Linked DNA regions of Homo sapiens: region 1 is linked to region 2. The links are contacts of gene promoters, found by promoter capture Hi-C in blood cells and fetal thymus (Javierre and others, 2016). All regions are on one chromosome and are shown on one strand. Each heading gives the region's core, a stretch centred on a gene start or on the middle of the fragment in contact. The rest is flanking DNA. Distances are from core to core; before and after follow the strand shown. Region 1 holds the start of LCN6 (lipocalin 6). Region 2 holds the start of INPP5E (inositol polyphosphate-5-phosphatase E).

Evidence for each region. The method cuts DNA at HindIII sites, captures the fragments that hold promoters and counts their contacts. A CHiCAGO score of 5 or more calls a contact.
Region 1: a contact is called between the fragment with the promoter of LCN6 here and the fragment with the promoter of INPP5E in region 2, in 7 of 17 cell types (monocytes, M1 macrophages, megakaryocytes and 4 more). The highest score is 7.8, in monocytes.

What each region holds. Positions count from the first base shown.
Region 1 is chr9:136,747,267-136,749,966 of GRCh38, forward strand. LCN6 (lipocalin 6) reads right to left here and starts at 1,259. Exons shown (of 7, transcript NM_198946.3): 1 at 1,128-1,259; 2 at 158-297. The coding sequence starts at 1,217. LOC100128593 (a long non-coding RNA gene) reads left to right here. Exons shown (of 3, transcript NR_033913.1): 2 at 1-1,306; 3 at 1,480-2,645. The HindIII fragment of the contact is 9,973 bases long and covers 1-2,700 here.
Region 2 is chr9:136,438,589-136,441,327 of GRCh38, forward strand. It overlaps INPP5E (inositol polyphosphate-5-phosphatase E), which reads right to left and starts at 1,257. Exons shown (of 10, transcript NM_019892.6): 1 at 20-1,257. The coding sequence starts at 831. SEC16A (SEC16 homolog A, endoplasmic reticulum export factor) reads right to left here. Exons shown (of 32, transcript NM_014866.2): 32 at 1,517-2,739. RefSeq lists enhancers at 1-94, 36-145, 95-729, 730-1,363 and silencers at 436-925, 986-1,165, 1,216-1,415. The HindIII fragment of the contact is 4,062 bases long and covers 1-1,600 here.

The DNA of each region.
Region 1 (2,700 bases), core at 9-2,508, 310 kb after region 2:
GGCTCTGCACAGAGCCCAGTGGGAAAAGTGACGGGGGTGCAGAGGGGCCGTGGGAAGCCCCCAGGCCGCGGTGCCCGGGAGCAGATGTGCAAAGTACATGATGTGGCTGAGCCACAGTCCTGCCTGCGGGAAGGCCTGGCAGGACCCGCCCACTCACCCGTGCTGAGAGGACAGCGTCCGCAGGTTGTTTTCTGGAGTGAGGGTCACCACCACCCCCACGACGTTCTTCATGTCCTTCTCCATGGCAAAGCCCTTTTCCCGGGAGGCCACCGCAAGCACGTACCAGGGCCCAAGAAGCTGCATTGAGGCGGCTCCCGTTAGGGCCGCCAGCCCTCCAGCCTCCAGCCTCCAGCCTCCAACCCTCCAGCCTCAGCCTCCAGCCTCCAAACCTCCAGCCTCAGCCTCCACCCTCCAACCATCCAGCCCTCCAGCCTCCAGCCTCCAACCCTCCAGCCTCCAGCCTTCCAGCCCTGCAGCCTCCAGCCTCCACCCTCCAACCATCCAGCCCTCCAGCCTCCAGTCTCCAACCCTCCCGCCCTCCAGCCTCCAACCTTCCAGCCTTGCAGCCTCTAGCCTTCAGTTCTCCAGCCCTCCAGCCTCCAGCTTCCAACCCCCCAGACCTCCAACCCTCCAGCCTCCAGCCTTCCAGCCCTACAGCCTCTAGGCTCCAGCCCTCCAGCCTTCCAACCTCCAGCCTGCAGCCCTGCAGCCTCTAGTCTCCAGCTCTCCAGCCCTCCAGCCTCCAGTTCTGCAGCCCTCCAGCCTCCAGCCCTCCAGCCTCCAGTTCTACAGCCCTCCAGCCTCCAGCCCAGCAGCCTCCAGCCTCCAGTTCTCCAGCCCTACAGCCTCCAGCCCTCCAGCCTCCAGTTCTCCAACCCTACACCCTCCAGCCCTGCAACCTCCAGTCTCCAGCCTCCAATTCTCCAGCCCTCCAGCCTCCAACCCTCCAGCATCCACCCCTCCTGCCCTGAGGCTCCTGCCTGTGGGACTCCCCAAGGGCTGGCCCAACTAATTCCCCACTGCTCATGCTGGTCTGGGCTAGCCCTGGGGGGCCCAGAAGCTGTGTGGCCTTAAAGGAGGGGCTGGCCCCCGAGGACCAGCTCTCCCCACCCCCAGGAGGACTGTACCTGCTCAGGGTCCAGTCTTCCCAACCACACGGCCTGGGCCCTGGGCACCGAGACCAAAGCCAGAAAAGCAGCCAGCAGCAGGCCGCCCATCCTCCCAGGTCTACACTGCGCCGCAGGCCCAGGATGTGCAGTCCCTCCAGGCCCTGGAGACCCGTTTATATGGCTCTGAATTTCTCCGTGTGGGTGGCACTAACTGCCAGGAACCCTCCTGGCCTCCTGCAAAATTACCCAGGGGAGCACTGAGCAGTGGCAGCCTCTGAGCCCAGATCAGACCAGCTGCACAGCCAGGAGAGGGTCTGGAGTGTGTGGATCAACCATACTATACTGATCCCCTGCTTTCTTCCACCAGAAGGTTCCAGAATGGGCATCCTAAAGCCAGCCGCACCACCTCCCCCGTTCCTGGGGACCCACGCTCTCCCTCGCCCAGCCTGGGAAGCAGGGAGACTGCTGTCCGCTGCCAGGCCCGGCAGGAGGCCAAGGTCAAGCCCAAGGAGAGGAACCAGGGCGAGAACAAGTGGTTCTCAGGAACTGCGGTTTTGGATATCTTTTGTTTCAATCATTAAATATAAAAAGTCCCTGAAAGCCTTTTGAAAAAGGCTCCCACCTCCTCCTGGCCCACCCACCATTCTGCTTTGTGGCCTGGCCTCTGTCCCCCACAGCCAGCACCCCCAGAACAGACTGTCCTGTTCCTTCCACCTCTGCAGCCCACCATCCGGCCCTGCTGCCTCCTGCCTCCCCTCCCTGGGACCCTGGCCTGCTTGTGCCTCCCAAGGCCCCTTGAGAGCTCTCTGCAGCCCCAGTCCGGGAGCAGAGGACAGAGGTGCTCGGCAGGGTCTATCTGAGCCCCTGAAGCCCACTGGGAGGCAGCCGGGAGGGTCCTCCCCCAGTGCCGTGGCCTGCACCCTCTGGGATTCACTCCCACACACCTTCGCTCATTCATCAACAAGGGTGCAAGGAGCACGTCCATGCAACAAGGCTCCAGTGCCCAGGGCCGCCTGCACTCACAGAGCTTATGCTGCAGCCCTGGCCACCTGCCCTGTACCCACGCAGCAGGGCCTGTGACCACCAGAGTGCAGGAGGAAGGCAGAAACCACACAGCTACTGGGGGCTGGGCCTGCGAAGACTGACCGGGCAGTGGGGCCACGGAGGTGCCAGCCACAGCCATGGCAAGCAGGAGTTGCCCAGGGGCTGAGCCACAGAACAAGGGAGCGGGACACTTAGGCCTGGAGCCTTCAGGAGGGAGCCGTGGCTGCTCGCGGTAATCCCAGCACTTCAGGAGGCTGAGGCGGGAGGATCACTTGAGTCCAGGAGTTTGAGACCAGCCTGGGCGACATAGCAAGACTTCGTCTCTACAAGCAAGTTTAAAAATTAGCTGGACATGGTGGCGTGCTCCTGTAGTCCCAGCTACTCAGGAAGCTGAGGTAGGAGGATTGCTTGAGCCCAGGAGGTTGAGGCTGCAGTGAGCTGTGATCGTGCCACTCCTCTCCAGCCTGGGTGATGGAGCAAGACCCCATCTCTAAAATAAAATAAAAATACAAAAAGGAGGAAGCCGAGCAGCTGGGCCAGGCCTCTG
Region 2 (2,739 bases), core at 7-2,506:
CCCGCCAGGCCCTCCCTACCTGCTGCGGACGTCCTTGCTGCGGATGGGCGCCAGGAGGCTGAAGGAGGATTTGGCCGAGCGAAGGGAACAGTCGTCGCAGGCCAGGGGGCTCCGCGGCCGGCCGGGGCCCAGGCTGCTGTGGGCCCGCACCAGGAGCGGCTGCGCGCGGAGCTTGTAGTCTGCAAGATCCGAGTCGACCTTGTTTGCTGTCCTCAGGGAGTCGGAGGCGATGTCCAGGCTCAGGGCAGGCGGTGGGCGCGGGGGCAGCAGGCTGGGCAGCCTGGGCGAGCTCCCCGCCACGGCGGCGTCTCTGTGCGGGAGGTTCGGGGAGCTGCTGGCCACCCCAGAGAGAGGGTTACCCCCCGAGGACGGGCTCCCTCTCTCACTGCTCAGGACCCCGCGGGACTTGGGGATTTCCTGCAAGGAGGTGCTCAGGCAGGGCGGGGAGCAGCTGTGGGCGGGGGCCCCGGGGCCCTCGCTCTGCACTGAGCCCCTGGAGGGACTGGTCCCATTCCGGGCTTCCAGGTCCTCCTGGCTGCCTCGAAAACGCCTCCTCCTCCAGCCCTTGTCGTCCAGGGACAGGGCTCGCTCCAGTCGAGGCCTGGCGGGGGGCCGCGGGGCGATGGGTGCTGCTCGGGCTGGCGGGTCCTCGCCGCTGGGCGTGGCCGGAGTGCTGCAGGCAAGCGCGGGGCTCTCGGAGCCCGGAGCATCGGGTGGGGACCCCGCGCGCTGGGCCGGCGGAGCGCCGGGAAGCTGTCCTTGGAGCGTCCTCCCTTCCGGCGGCTGCGGGGCCGGCTCGGAGGGCCGCAGATTCTCCGCCTTGGACGGCATGGACGGTCTCTCCCGGGGCAGGCCTCGGCGCGAGGCCGCAGGCAGCGCGAGGGGTCACGGGTGCCGGGTCCGGGGTCGCCGGCGCAGCGAGGAGCAGAAACGCCGCTGCGGCTCCCGCTTGGGCCGGGGATGGTCGCGGAGGGGCGGGGGCGGCTGCCGCATGGCCCGGGCCCCGAGTCCCGCCAGCCCCTCGGGGCTCCCAGACGCCGTTCCCAGGGCGGTCCGCAGGCAAGGCCTGGGGGAACAGGCGGCTGGGCGCCTGTCGCGGGGGAGGTTCGACCCCGACGGGGACGCCGCTCGGGGAGAGGGGTGGGAAGCGGGCACCCCTGGCTGGGCTCGCAGACTCCGAAGTCGACCCGGTACTCGCGGAGGCCCGGCCGCCCAGAAGCGGAGTCAGCCCGGCCGGGACCCAGCAACCGCCGCCGCGGGGCCGCGCCCGGTCCCCGCCCCGCGCCCCGGCCCCGCCCACAGCGGCCCCTGGCGGCCGGAGGACTGCGCCGCACCGGACCCGGACGGGTCTCCCACGCCCCTCCCAACCCGGCAGCCCCGCAGTCCGGCAGGTCCCAGCGAGGCAGGTGCAGGTCCCCGGAGAGGACCTGGGTGCGGTCCAGGACAGCGCCGAGGCCTGCGGACACCTGCACTCACTCGCTTCCAGCAAACCAAAGGGAACCACAGGTGAAGGTGCTTGAAGGAGCGCAAAATATTTTATTCAACAATTTGCAATGTAACAATTCTCATTTAGGAAAAATAGCCGCTCCCGCCTGGAGGAAGCTTCTTGAATCAAAAGTCGTGGCAGTCGACCCCAGAACAGCGGGCAGAGCCGACCGGAAGAGGTCCCAGGATTCACACGAGCTGACCGAGGGACAGAGAGGGCTGCCCCGTCACAGGGACTGGCCTTTCTCCAAGTGACAAGGACAAATGGATCCAGCGGGACACGCCTGTGGAACATTTTGGAAAACATCCTGGGTGGTCTGGGCTAAATGATCAAGTGAAACAGAAAGCCAGGAAGGATCTGTGCTAATTCCACATTCTACAATTTCTACACTTAAATTTAAAACACCAAACAGTTTGTATTCCTCCAGCAGAACCTACAGAAATTATCTACTGATTTTTATTAGTATTTAAATCTTTTCTTCAGTCTCTTTAGACTTGACAAGAATACGAAGAGTTTCAGAACAGTCAGAGAAGCCTTAAAGCTTTGCATCAGTGAGAGGAGGCCCGTCTCTGAGTTGAACAGGGTTGAGTCCACCAGGAGCTACTCAAAGTCTCAGTGTGGCAAAACTCGGGGCAGAAATACTAAGTTCCAGAGCTGCTGTCAAGAAACTGTGTTAAGATACTCTCCCCAAGTGCTACCAACCTCTGAACCAACGTCCCCCAGGGGAGAAAGTGGGTCATGTGGATTGTACCACGAAAAGTGCTCACGGAAAGTGCAGCCTTTTAGAGAAGTGCATCCAGCTTCCTTAACAGTGAGTCTAACCGTGCTCCTACACACGAAATGAAGCCCAAATCAAACATCACACGGTCAGTTTTCAACCTGGATGACCACCCTGAGCCATCATGTCAGACAGCCGGCTCTCTGGGGCTCCTTCCCAGTGACTGGGCCACACGGTGGGCAGTCCCCAGCGCTTTGGGTACACAAAATCACCCATGGTCCTCATCAGGCCACAGAAAGTAAAGTGAGGCTGGAAGCGTCTTTGCAACAGGAAAGAAATTCACTGCAGTAACTAAGGCCTCTCTCAAAAACCGTGAACTAATGCCGAAGGAACCCCACGGCTCCTCGGAGGCGCTGATTGAGAACACAGCGCCCTCCACTCATTCAGCCAGGTTCAAACACGGCGAGGGCCCAGATGGTGCAGAGCAGGGGTTGGGGTCTGCCTCAGTCACCCTCTCTTTGCTCCCAGCACCTTA